3 separate regions of the Homo sapiens genome follow, and all the other regions are linked to region 2. The links are contacts of gene promoters, found by promoter capture Hi-C in blood cells and fetal thymus (Javierre and others, 2016). All regions are on one chromosome and are shown on one strand. The core of a region is centred on a gene start or on the middle of the fragment in contact, and the rest is flanking DNA. Distances in the headings are between cores, read along the strand shown. Region 1 overlaps SF3B3 (splicing factor 3b subunit 3). Region 2 holds the start of EXOSC6 (exosome component 6). Region 3 overlaps SF3B3 (splicing factor 3b subunit 3).

The links. The method cuts DNA at HindIII sites, captures the fragments that hold promoters and counts their contacts. A CHiCAGO score of 5 or more calls a contact.
Region 1: a fragment that was not itself captured here is called in contact with the fragment with the promoter of EXOSC6 in region 2 in 3 of 17 cell types (erythroblasts, megakaryocytes and fetal thymus); the score reaches 20.4 in erythroblasts.
Region 3: a fragment that was not itself captured here is called in contact with the fragment with the promoter of EXOSC6 in region 2 in 6 of 17 cell types (erythroblasts, megakaryocytes, total CD4 T cells and 3 more); the score reaches 16.7 in erythroblasts.

What each region holds. Positions count from the first base shown.
Region 1 is chr16:70,560,692-70,565,134 of GRCh38, reverse strand. SF3B3 (splicing factor 3b subunit 3) reads right to left here. Exons shown (of 26, transcript NM_012426.5): 17 at 3,351-3,505; 18 at 1,085-1,259; 19 at 1-70. Among named protein-coding and RNA genes, the nearest start is that of SNORD111, 25 kb to the right of the region's middle. The HindIII fragment of the contact is 3,481 bases long and covers 1-3,132 here.
Region 2 is chr16:70,249,252-70,253,684 of GRCh38, reverse strand. It overlaps EXOSC6 (exosome component 6), which reads left to right and starts at 1,745. Exons shown (of 1, transcript NM_058219.3): 1 at 1,745-4,433. The coding sequence starts at 1,785. The coding sequence ends at 2,603. AARS1 (alanyl-tRNA synthetase 1) reads left to right here. Exons shown (of 21, transcript NM_001605.3): 20 at 304-417; 21 at 779-1,387. The coding sequence ends at 964. RefSeq lists enhancers at 204-704, 1,339-1,528, 1,569-1,618 and silencers at 1,999-2,088, 2,219-2,538. The HindIII fragment of the contact is 9,148 bases long and covers 1-4,433 here.
Region 3 is chr16:70,545,918-70,550,503 of GRCh38, reverse strand. SF3B3 (splicing factor 3b subunit 3) reads right to left here. Exons shown (of 26, transcript NM_012426.5): 11 at 2,062-2,134. Among named protein-coding and RNA genes, the nearest start is that of SNORD111, 10 kb to the right of the region's middle. The HindIII fragment of the contact is 3,294 bases long and covers 1,634-4,586 here.

The sequences.
Region 1 (4,443 bases), core at 143-2,642, 310 kb before region 2:
CATTGAGGAATGCTGCTGCCATCTCTGCGGCCAGCTCCCGCTCATCCTCCCCTGCTGCTTCCACCATTTCCTAAACCCAAAAAAACGAGTAACTGAGTTGGCGTGCTCAGAGGTAGGGGCTGGCTGAGAAGAGGATAGGTAGCAAGAACACTCCAGGGGGTTCTCAATACATAAAGCAGCAAAGTCAGCCATCCCAGCCAGGATTTCCCGACATGACTATTAAAGGGAGAGGTGTACAGACTAGGGAAGACAGAAGATCAGAAAGGGAAATCCAGACATTGCTGGTTACATATTAGTAGAAAACACCAAAAATAACAATAGCTGTGACAAATATTGGACTAGTGGCTTGAGAAAAATGACAACGGAAACTCCACTTTTCTATCCAACCCATCTGATTTCCCTTACTAAAACTACTCTGTCTCCACTCTTTAAGGATGGATACAGTTCTACGTGGTTGTAGCTATTTGGTTTCTGCTAGGCAATGAGTTCTAGAAAGAGCTGGTGTTGTGGAGAACATGAAAGCTGTCTCTTTTGGGCCCAAATAAAGGAAATACAGTCTATTTTGGAAGCTCAAGGACGGGAGAATTCTGTTTCAGAGAGGGAACTTAATTGTGAATAAATGGAGGTCAGAGTATAGTCCTGGGTTACAAGAAAGGCTCTAAAATGAAGTACTTTGGGGCAAAGGCCTCTGCTTAAAAAAGCTGAAAAAAGCCTAGATCTTTAAAAACAAAGAATATACTAACAATTACAGGAGTTTAAACTTTTGATAGAGTCTCGTGTCCAGAGTGCCACTGGTATGCAGTGGCATGATCATGGCTCACTGCAGTCTTGAACTCCTGGGCTCAAGTGATCCTCCTGCCTCAGCCTCCCAAGTAGCTGGGACTACAGGAGTGCACCAACACACCAGGCTATCTTTTAAAATTTTTAATAGAGGTGCAGTTTTGCTATGTTGCCCAGGCTGGTCTCGAACTAGTGGCCTCAAGCAATCCTCCCACCTCAGCCTCCCAAAGTGCCGGGCAGTTTAAACTTTTCAACATAATTTCACACATCTTTTAATAGAACCCCTGAACGTTAGTCTCATTACCTCTGCCATCTGCTGCTTTCTCTGAGCTTTCGTGGCCTCAGTGTAGGCATTGTGGTCCGTTTCAATGATAATAAGGTTGTTACTCTCAGGGTGGATGACAAATTTCCTGGGTGTGTACTGCAGTGGGAAGGCTACTTGATTGAAGACAGCACCGAGCTTCTCTAATGCCAAAATCCTATGACAAAAAAGCAAGGCAGTTATTTAATACTCACTCGGACCCAGAAACTGGTGTTGAAATAGACTTTGAGCAGTCAGCAAACACGTCAATCCCTGGAGCTCTAACGTTGGCATTAGGCAACATTAAACAACAGCCTCCTACTCTAGAAAACTCTGCGATGCAGACACAGAGATCCAGGAAGGGCCTTCCCATTTGGCAACACCCTACCACAATTCACAGCAGTTCTAGTTCCTACCAATGAAACACAAACGATTGTCAAAAGTTTTTTTTTAATCACTCCAATGATAATAAAGAGCCCAATCCCAAATTTGTTGTGAAACACTGCAATTACCTAAACATATATGGTATTTGTAGTGACTGTGCTTCATAAAATAAAGTGGATACCTTTGTGAACAAAAATCACCTCAGTTCAGGAAAACTATGACAATGCAAGAGACAGCAAATAAGGGACCTACAAATTTCTGTCAAATGGGACAGAGATGTACACATAAGCCAAACTATGTGCAAAATGAGCAGAACCCAGGTACTCTGAAAAGTATAGTTACCCGATCTCTAATGATGGAGTTTTATTTGTAGTTTATTCTCTACATTAAAAAAGATAGGGGCTGCGTGTGGTGGCTCACGCCTGTAATCTCAGCACTTTGGGAGGCCAAAGCAGGCAGATCACCTAAGGCTAGGAGTTCAAGACAAGCCTGGGTAACATGGTGAAACACCAACTCTGTTGAAAATACCAAAAAAAAAGCCATGTATGGTGGCGCACGCCTGTAGTCCCAGCTACTTGGGAGGCTGAGGTGGGAGAATCTCTTGAGCCCAGGAGCTCAAGACCAGCCTGGGCACCAAGGTGAAATCCTGTCTCTATAAAATAGAACACAAAAATTAGCCAGGCATGATGGCATGCGCCTACAGTCCCACCAGGTACTTGGGAGGTTGAGGCAGAAATAGCTTGAGCCCAGGAAGTTGGGGCTGCAGTGAGCCATGATCACACCACTGCACTCCAACCTGTACAACAGAGTAAGACCTTGTCTCAAAAAAAAAACTTAAAAATAAAAATAATTAAATAAAAAAATAAACTGCCTGCCAAGAACTCTGCTTTTATGTCTCATAAGTCACCTTCCCTGATTTAGTTTTGGGGGGAAGTAAGTTCTGCTGCTAGGAAAGCCTAAAAATCTGTAGCGATTGTCTAAATCTATAGCAATTCAGGAGGTAGGGGCCACAGATGAGGCTACAACAAGGCTGGCTTAAAAGACAAGGGGAACACTGACAGGCAGGTATGTATGTGGGTGAAGCATTCTAGCACAGGTAGAGATTAAAAAAATATTAAGTGATGTAGAGCAGTGCAGGGAGATCAATTCTGCTGGAGCAGAAGATAAATACAAAGATGACGGAAAGAAAAAGGACAATGACCATGAAAAGACCCTGAAAGTTGTTGCAAAGAAATTTTGGGAGCTCATTTGATAAGCAATAGTGATTAATCTATCAAGAGGCCATAGTTTCATTATGAACAGCCAATAGTTATAACCAGGATGTGAACAACTTTGGTGGCTTAATTTTAAAAGCCCCCCAAAACCTGAGGAAGCCAAACTGACTGAATTATTTTAGGTTCTTTTCCATCTTGCAAAGAATATTACATACAGTGCTCAAACTTCACATCAATATTACCAGGAAGAACAGTTTTGTCAACTTGAAAAAGGTCTAAATAACTTATAGATAGGTTAACATTTAAGATTTAATACCGCAAATGACAAGACAGAGTAAGAAAGGTTATCAATGCAGTGATCCAATACTTGCTCTAAAACTAATCCAATGGCAATACCCTTTTGCTAGAAAACAAAAATCTGAAATCTCAGGAAGATTGGACTGTATTAAAGCTTGGCCTTGAAAATCTTAACAGAAGCTAAAACACCGAAACTTGGCTCTCAGGTACTAAAATGCTGAGCCAAATGAAGGTTTCAATTGCAACACACAAGCTTCATGGTGAAGTCGGCTCTCTGCCACCTCTTCACAGCCTCCTCCAACACTCTGGCAGAACCAGTCTGAGCCCTTGGCAGAAAGGCTTCCTGCTGAGCTTCAAACATGAGACTCACTCACCGTAGGGTGTTGGTGGAGATGGCCACAATGCCCTCGGGACACTGTTCCGAGGCAAAACCCGATGCAAATTCCAGTGTCTCGTAAGACAGTGGGGTGAGATGGAAGCGAGATTGGTAAGAATAGCTCAACCATGAGCGGCTTGACATGGCCAATACCTGAGGGGAAAAAAAAAACCCAGCTCCAATAAGGTTTGGGAAAAAATACAAATATGGTATAAGCTGACCAAAAGCCCTATCCCCAAATTTCAGTCTGCAGAGTATCCTAAGATATTCTAGAAATATAACAGGCTATCTTAAGAAAAAGAGGGCTAGAGAGAGGCACTATGGCTTAGCATATGTGAAAAGCATGGGCTACGAGCCATATGATCTAGACTCACCATTTCATCTCTCTAAGCCTGCTTCCACGTGTGTAAAATGAAAACAGTACCACAAGGCTGGACAGCTGCAAGAATTAAATGGAATGAAGGCCAGGTGCGGTGGCTCATGCCTGTAATCCCAGCACTTTGGGAGGCCACGGCAGGCGGATCACCTGAAGTCAGGAGTTCGAGGCCAACCTGGCCAACATAGTGAAACCTCATCTCTACTAAAAATACAAAAATTAGCTGGGCGTGGTGGCATGCGCCTGTAATCCCAGCTAATCGGGAGGCTGAGGAAAGACAATTGGTTGAACCCAGGAGGCGGAGGTTGCAGTGAGCCAAGCTTGCACCACTACATTCCAGCCTGGGCGACAGAGTGAGACTCCATCTCAAAAAAAAAAACAACAAAAAACAGAATTAAATGGAATCAATTAGCACAGTGCCCAGAAACACTAACATTCTTAACTACAAAGGACACAATGTTTCCCAGTCTCTTTCACATTAGGTAGTAAACGTGACACTGATCTAAGACTGGGATAAAACCTGAGAATTCTCATGGCTAGTGGTGTCCTAGAGGGGAGGTTTCCAGCCCTATTTGACCAGCCAGAGGGCTAAAGGGATCGATATCTCTACCCAGCTATAACCAAATCATGACATGGTGCGATGGAGCCCCAGTGAGGAAGCTCTAGGTTAGGAAAACTCAGGACTTCTCACATGAAGGAAACCAATCAAGATGGA
Region 2 (4,433 bases), core at 496-2,995:
AGGGCTCATCAGCTCTCTGGTGGCTGACATGTGGCCTCTGTGGCTCTGAGCGAAGTGGTTGCCTAAGGGCCCACGGTCTGGGATTGAGATTGGGAGGAGCAGCAGCTCCCTGCATGTGGGAGGCATACCTGGGCCAGGGTAGGGGCAGGGCCCGGCGCTGGGGTCCTCCCCACAGGCCCTGGGCACAGCCCCTGCTCTGGGAAGGGGTAGGGGTGGGTGGCAGGCCTTCTGAGGGCTGCAAATGCTCACACTAGTGAGGGTCCCTGCTCCAGCACCGTGGCCTGAGCCAGGTCCTCCCCACAGGCCCTGAATGAAGCCTTGAAGCTCTTCAAGATGCACTCCCCTCAGACTTCTGCCATGCTCTTCACGGTGGACAATGAGGCTGGCAAGATCACGTGCCTGTGTCAAGTTCCCCAGGTCAGCACCACCTCGCACCAGTGGGAAGTGTTAGGTCTTAAGGTTGTTGGCTGAGGCCTGTGTGTGTACAGCCTGCATTCGAAACAGCCTTTCTGCCCACCGGTTGGTTACCTTTGCCAGTACCCCTTACCCAGGCCTTCTTATTGGTGAAGACATCTGGTTGATACCTGGCTTTGCCACTCTGTCCTGTCCTGGCAGTGGCCATGGCCGCCCCCTGTACCAGCCGTAAAGTCTGTCTCGGCCTCCAGCAGTATCACCCAGGGCAAGGAGTGGGTGATGGCTCCTCCATCCTTTCTTTCCCTGCATTCCTCCCTCAATCCCATCTTCTGTGCTGACTCCCCCTTCCCTTCCTGTCTTCTAGAATGCAGCCAATCGGGGCTTAAAAGCCAGCGAGTGGGTGCAGCAGGTGTCAGGCTTGATGGACGGTAAAGGTGGTGGCAAGGATGTGTCTGCACAGGCCACAGGCAAGAACGTTGGCTGCCTGCAGGAGGCGCTGCAGCTGGCCACTTCCTTCGCCCAGCTGCGCCTCGGGGATGTAAAGAACTGAGTGGGGAAGGAGGAGGCTCCCACTGGATCCATCCGTCCAGCCAAGAGCTCTTCATCTGCTACAAGAACATTTGAATCTTGGGACCTTTAAAGAGCCCCTCCTAACCCAGCAGTAACTGGAACACACTTGGGAGCAGTCCTATGTCTCAGTGCCCCTTAAATTTCTGCCCTGAGCCCTCCACGTCAGTGCCATCGGTCTAGAACCACTAACCCCGCATTGCTGTTGATCGTCACGCTCGCATCTATAGATAACGGCTCTCCAGACCTGAGCTTTCCGCGTCAGCAAGTAGGAATCGTTTTTGCTGCAGAGAATAAAAGGACCACGTGCAATACTTAATGCCGCATGATCTCTATCCCTCTTCCCAATAGGGGCTGGCTCTTTTGACAGCCTTTGGCGTCTGTAGAATAAATGCTGTGGCTCCTGCTGGCTGCTGTGGTGTTCACCTAGTCCAGCCCCAGAACCCAAAATTTTGGGAACAGCCCCTAGGGCTGCCTCAAACGTCTGTGGAGGTGGAGGCCAAATAGGTGGGGTGACTTGGAGCAAGGCGTTCATAATTCAGTAGATGAGGGGTGGAGGTAGTTGGAAGCAGAGAAGCCTTTCTTGGAGCTGCTCTCCCCCCTCCCTTCCAGCAAGATGGATGGATCCGGCTACCCTGCACAACTGGGACCGGGCCGTTCTCCCTCCGGGCCTCCAGGGGCGCTGTAGTGCCTCCCGCCGCTCTCTCGACAGCCCATGCGCAGCCGCGCGTCTTTAAACAACGGAAGAACCAGTGGATGCGGCAGGGCGTTGGGCGGAAGGGGTTCGCACGCCAAGAACCGCCATGCCTGGGGATCACCGCCGCATCCGCGGCCCTGAAGAATCGCAGCCGCCGCAGCTGTACGCGGCCGACGAGGAGGAGGCGCCCGGCACCCGCGACCCAACGCGGCTACGGCCCGTGTACGCGCGCGCCGGGCTGCTGAGCCAGGCCAAGGGCTCGGCCTACCTGGAGGCGGGAGGCACCAAGGTGCTGTGTGCCGTGTCGGGCCCGCGACAGGCCGAGGGCGGCGAGCGCGGCGGCGGCCCGGCCGGAGCAGGCGGCGAGGCCCCGGCCGCGCTGCGCGGTCGCCTGCTCTGCGACTTCCGCCGCGCACCCTTCGCGGGCCGCCGGCGCCGCGCTCCCCCGGGCGGCTGCGAGGAGCGTGAGCTGGCGCTGGCGCTGCAGGAGGCGCTGGAGCCGGCTGTGCGCCTGGGCCGCTACCCGCGCGCGCAGCTCGAGGTGTCGGCGCTGCTGCTGGAGGACGGTGGCTCGGCCCTGGCCGCCGCGCTCACCGCCGCCGCGCTCGCCCTGGCCGACGCGGGCGTGGAGATGTACGACCTGGTGGTGGGCTGCGGCCTCAGCCTCGCGCCGGGGCCCGCGCCCACCTGGCTCCTGGACCCCACGCGGCTCGAGGAAGAGCGCGCCGCCGCCGGCCTCACCGTGGCGCTCATGCCTGTGCTGAATCAGGTGGCCGGGCTGCTGGGCAGCGGCGAGGGCGGCCTGACAGAGAGCTGGGCGGAGGCCGTACGCCTGGGCCTCGAGGGCTGCCAGCGCCTCTACCCCGTGCTGCAGCAGAGCCTGGTGCGGGCCGCCCGCCGCAGGGGCGCCGCCGCCCAGCCCTGAACCAGAAGCCTGAGCAACTACGGACGCAAGCCGAGGACCGTGCTGCCGCCGTCCACGAAAAGACCCGCGCCATCGGCCTCCAGTTTGCGTCGAGAATTCCTGGAAGGGCCCTGATATGACTGTGGTTGGACTGACCTGACTGCCAGATGGTGGGACTTGGTCTGGAGCAGGGACTACTTGGAATGATAAAGGCAAAACTCAACAGCCCCTGGAGCTGCGCTTGTGGTGGAGCTGGACCCTGAAATTACCTGGACCTTTTTTTTAGAGACAGGGTTTCTTTCTGCAGTCTCAAACTCCTAGCCTTGATTGATCCTCCTGCCTTGGCCTCCCAAAGTGCTGGGACTACAGGTGCATGCAACCACACCTGGCTAATTTTCTTTTCTTCTTTCTTTCTTTTTTTTTTTTTTTTTTTTTTGATGGAGTCTTGTTCTGTTGCCCAGGCTGGAGTGCAATGGTGCAATCTTGGCTCACTGCAACCTCTGCCTCCTGGGTTCAATCCATTCTCCTGCCTCAGCCTCCCAAGTAGCTGGGATTACAGGCACATGCCTCCATACCGGGCTAATTTTTGTATTTTTAGTAGAGATGGGGTTTCGCCATGTGGGCCAGGCTGTTCTCGAATGCCTGACCTCAGGTGATCCACCCGCCTTGGCCTCCCAAAGTGCTGGAATTACAGGTGTGAGCCACTGTGCCCAGCTGAGTAAATTTCTTGATTGCACAGAATGTACGGTGATATTGGCGGACTTAAGGACATCGAATTGTTTATCAGGAATAAAGTATTATGTGTGTTTTCTGCGGCCCTGGATAATGCTGTAGCATTCAGGGTCGATTGAGTAAAAAAAATGTAGAGATGGTTTCCTGTTTGTTTTTGCTTCTAGTTTTCATTCATTTGCTATTTATTCTCTTCTGGCTTTGCTTGTGTATGCATATATATAAAACCATTATTATTATTATTATTATTTTTAGTTTCTAGTGGAAGGCTTTTATTTGGTTCTGTGAATAGTCATTTTGTTTCCTAAGAACTTCCAGCAAGTTGTATTCATTCCATTCATCTAGAATTCCTAGGCTGCCTTTGTCGGGCCTGCAGGTATTAATGGAGAATAGCAGCTTTTTATTTTTTTATATTTATTTTTTGAGACAGAGTCTCACTCTGTTGCCCAGGCTGGAGTGCAATGGCGCGATCTCAGCTCACTGCAACCTCCGCCTCAGAGGTTCAAGTGATTCTCCTGCCTCAGCCTCTGGAATAGCTGGGACTACAGGCACCTGCCACCACACCCAGCTAACTTTTTGTATTTTTAGAGAAGATGGGGTTTCATCATGTTGGCCAAGCTGGTCTCAAACTCCTGATCTCAGTGATCCATCTGCCTCAGCCTCCCAAAGTTATAAGATTTTTTTCCTCTGGTTTTTAGTAAATGTTTTTTTTGAGATTGCTTAGCACCAGAATGATTTGCAAATTTGAAAATAGGAACTCCACTAGGAATGCCGGATAGAAGAGTGCTTCACATTTGTAGAGGGAGACAAGAACTAAATATCACGACGTCTTTCTGAGCCTTTTGGTTTGCTAACGTGCCCCAAATTCTTATTCCAAACGGTATAAGATAATTATGTGTAAATGAATACCAGCTCTACTTAGTTTTATTTCATATTTGTGTATCTGAATATATTAAAATATCTTTTTTTTTTTTTTGATGCGGAGTCTTGCTCTGTTGTCCAGCCTGGAGTGCAGTGGCATGATCTCGGCTCACTGCAACCTCTGCCTCCCAGGTTCAAGCGATTCTCCTGCCTCAGCCTCCTAAGTAGCTGGTATTACAGGAGTGTGCCATTAGCCTGGCT
Region 3 (4,586 bases), core at 2,031-4,530, 300 kb before region 2:
ACCAACAGAACCCGACCTGTATTTATAGGTGACTCCCAAATTACAGTACCTAAAGAGTAAAATTTAGCAGGATATAGTCCTTTCCAAGACTTCTAACATTTAATAAAGGAGAAAAATGTTCAACTACAAGTTCCATAATGCAACAAACGGCCTATCACTAAGTTAGCAAATGCTGTCCCTCTAAAGAGCCTGCCCTGACCTTCAAACACATGCCCTCTCCTTTAACCCCTCCCAGCAATGTACCTGTGCCTTTCACCACATCACAACACACAACACTTTTGTATACTTGTCTTCTTTTTTTAGATGGCAAGTGCTCTGAGGCAGAGTCTATCTTAATCACTGAGTACATGGTGGGCACTCAAAAACTAAACTTATCCTGAAAGAAACCACCAAGACCCACAGAATCTCACTGCAGTTAATCAAAATGGGCATTCAACTGAGATTCAGAAGCCAGGATATTCTGTCCCCATTACCTAGACTGTGTCTTGAGACACTCAACCCCTATAACTTCCTGTCTTCTTCATAAAAGTGAGAGTTAACTTTTCTGTAAACCTAAATCTCTTTTCTTTTTCTTTTTTTGACATGGAGTCTCGCTCTGTCACCCAGGCTGGAGGGCAGTGGTGCAATCTCGGCTCACTGCAACCTCCGCCTCCCAGGTTCAAGTGATTCTCCTGCCTCAGCCCCTTAAGTAGCTGGGATTACAGGCCTGCACCACCACGCCCAGCTAATTTTTGTATTTTTAGTAGAGATGGGGTTTCACCATGTTGGCCAGACTGGTCTCAAACTCTGACCTCAGATGATCCGCCCACCTCGGCCTCCCAATATGCTGGGATTACAGGCATGAGCCACCGCACCTGGCCCTAAATCTGTTTTAAAATAAAAAGTTTATTTAAAAAGTTAAAAGAAAAAAAGAAAGAACACAATAGGTTATCTTAAAACGTGTTTCTAATTCAAACAGTCTAGGCAATGCTTTCAAGGGCCATGAATATCAACAAGCCACCAAGCCAAAGTAAAACACCAACACGGACCAACTTCTATGTAGATACTACACATAAAACCAGGTGCCTAATAATTATCTCTTCAGCTTATAAGCCTACCCATTTCCTATTCACAATTTTCCCTTTCTACTCAACTTGGATATGATTCAAATGCCTACAATGAAAATTAAATCCACAAAAATGAGTATTCTACTAATAGTAAGTTGTTTTCCTCCTACATGTCTCCCAACTCCTTCAATCTGTTTCATACAGGCAGAATATCTAAATATCAGGCAGAATTACAGCTGTTTTCTTGAAAAACCTGTCTGCTAGCAAGGATGATGTTACTCACCCATCCCACATTCCTGAGAGAACAAGAGAAAAACGTAGCTCCAATGTGAATCAAGGGAAAATGAGACTGAGCTTTCTTTCTATGAGGCTGCAATTCAATTGTCACAAGACTTTCCTGCTATTGCAGTAACTACTAGGCATTCTCCTATTACTTTCAAAGTTTTAGGATCAGGTGACCATTTATATCCAGGAGCTCAAACTCCCTTCTCCTTCCCCATCCCCGCTTTTCTACTCACACTAAAATTCGAATTCCACTCAATTCCACTCTGCTTTCCTTAAGCACTAGCAAGATTGACTAACAAGCTTTCCCAAATCTCTTAATTCCTAGAACACCACCTTCAATTTCACTGTGGTTTCAAAACAATTTAAAAGAATATAGTTGAAGAAGAATGAAAAAGCACAACTTTCCCTCATATCATACCTCTTACAGATGAAACCAGTACCTTTATGAATATAAAGTCAATACCACATTTGACAGCTCTATGATTCTGAAACCTTTATGTACTAAAATATAACAGCCAACCTATGTTCCCCCTTTCCCACCTGCACAAAAAGAAATGGTAGGTGAAGGCATCCTGAACGGAAGAGCCTCAAAAACAGTGTTGGGCCAGAAAGTTTCTGGTATATGGTGCTAAATGAAATGATACAGAAGTATTATGAACGCAGCCTTTCAAGCCTTCTATGTCAATGGCACCTAGATCCTCATTTTGACTATTGGGAAAAAGCTGCTTACCTTCAATGTGTCGACGCACTGTCCAGACAGCGTTGGGGTTACCAGGTAGCTCAGAAACAGCCATTTCTGACACCTGACAGGAGAAGAGGGAAGCCACAGATCCAGTGAGCATGCAACTCAGCTACCTGCTTACAATCACATCAAAAAATAAGGTCTCAAAGGCAGGGTTCACAACGTATGCTGTATTTAAAGGATGAAACCACCTAGTGAAAGAAGAATCTAAGAACCAAACAGGCTGGTTCTTAGTGGCAATCCCCATGACAGTCTTAAGCAAAAGTTACAGGATGTCTGAGAGGGTACAGTTGCTGCAGGCAAAACCATACCCCTTTCCTTCAAGTACAATATGCCTTGATCATCCTCAGAACAGCAGTAACCACTGGGAATCAATCAGGCCATCTAAATTAGCATCCCCTTTCTTTCCCCAGCTCCCATAAGGCCAAATCCCATGTGGACCAATTCAAATGCCACCTCCTTTAACAAAATTATTCCCTTATCCCCTTGGCTGGCAGTCACCTCTCCCTTCTATAAGCACTCATAGAAATCAGTCACCACCGGCTGGGCCCAGTGGCTCACACCTGAAATCCCAGCACTTTGGGATGCCGAGGCGGGTGGATTGCCTTAGGTCAGGAGTTCAAGACCAGCTGGCCAACACGGTGAAACCCGTCTCTGCAAAAATATAAAAATTAGCCAGGCATGATGGCGGGTGCCGTAATCCCAGCTACTCGGGAGGCTGAGGCGGGAGAATCGCTTGAACCCGGGAGGCGGAGGTTGCGGTGAGCTGAGATTGCATCATTGCACTCCAGCCTGGGTGACTGAGCGAGACTCCGTCTCCAAAAAAAAGAAAGAAATCAGTCACCACCTCTTAGGGTACTAACTGTTTTGTCTTTCTGATTAGATTTTTATGCTCCTTAAAGTCAAGAGTGAATGATTCTCTACATGTCCTATAGGTTCTCAAACATAAGAGTAAACAAAACATCTAAGCCAAATTCAAAATGATCTAGAGGGGAAAACTGGGTGTAGGTTATACAGGAACTCTCTGTACTGTCTTTGCAATTTTTTTATAAATTTAAAATCATTATAAAATTAAAATTATTGAATGTTTTTAAATGATCTAGAGACAATAAACTAGCCACTTATATATAACGTGTAACCCACATCTTATAGGAAGAATTCATGTATATTCACAGAAAGACTAGCCCTTTTCCTAGTTTACTGGTATAATTAGAAGGAAGACCTAAGAACTTCATCATCAATAAAATTCAACTGTCAACTATGCTATAGTCTATACCAAATGTAAAACTGTCAGTCACCCTGGCTCAATTGAGACCACAATCTAGTTAGACAACAAGGTGTAACAAATAGACATAAAGGAATAAAGCAACGTTCAACAATTTAAAAAAAAATTTTTTTTTTTTGAGACGGAGTCTCGCTCTGTCGCCCAGGCTCGAGTGCAATGGCGCGATCTTGGCTCACTGCAAGCTCCACCTCCCGGGTTCACGCCATTCTCCTGCCTCAGCCTCCTGAGTAGCTGGGACTACAGGCGCCCGCCACCACGCCTGGCTAATCTTTTTGTATTTTTAGTAGAGACGGGGTTTCACCGTGTTAGCCAAGATGGTCTCGATCTCCTGACCTCGTGATCTGCCCACCTCAGAAAATATTTTTATATATAACAAAGGTTTGTCTATAGATTTGAAGTGGGGAGAGAAGTAGCAGGAAACTAAAAAATGATTCTTGAGTCATTTATCTCTTACACTATACAAAAATTTTCTGTTAATGCACATATGCATTTTTTTAGAGACAGTATCACTCTTTTGCCCAAGCTGGAGTACAGTGGCGTGATCTCGGCTCACTGCAACCTCTACCTCCCAGTTCAAGCTATTCTCCTGCCTTAGTCTCCTGAGTAGCTGGGATTACAGACACCCACCACCACTCTCGGCTCATTTTTGTAGTTTTAGTAGAGAAGGGGTTTCACCATGTTGGCCAGGCTGGTCTCGAACTCCTGACCTTGGGTGATCCAGCTGCTTCAGCCTCCTAAAGTGCTGGAATTACAGGCGTGCGCCACCGTGCCCAGCCGCACATATGCATTTTTTGTGTAAAGCACTAGCTTTCATCATATGCTCACTAGGATCCAATGAGAAATAAGTAACTAACGAATCAAGAGCAATGGCTCTTGGCCAGGCGCGGTGGCTCACGCTTGTAATCACAACACTTTGGGAGGGTGAAGTGGGAGGCTCACTTGAGCCCAGGAGTTCAAGACCAGCCCTGGCAAAATAGCAAGACCCTGTCTCTACCAAAAATAAATAAATAAATTAGCCAAGCGTGATGGCGCACACCTGTAGTCCCAGCTACTCCAGAAGCTAAGGTGGGAGAATTGCTTGCTTGAGACTGGGCGTTGGAGGCTACAGTGAAGCAAAGTCTCACCACTGCACTCAAAAAAACAAAAACAAAAACAACAACAACAAAAAACCAAAAACCAGACCTATGGCTCTAAATTGGGTCTGAGTCATTGAAATTTTGGTGAACTG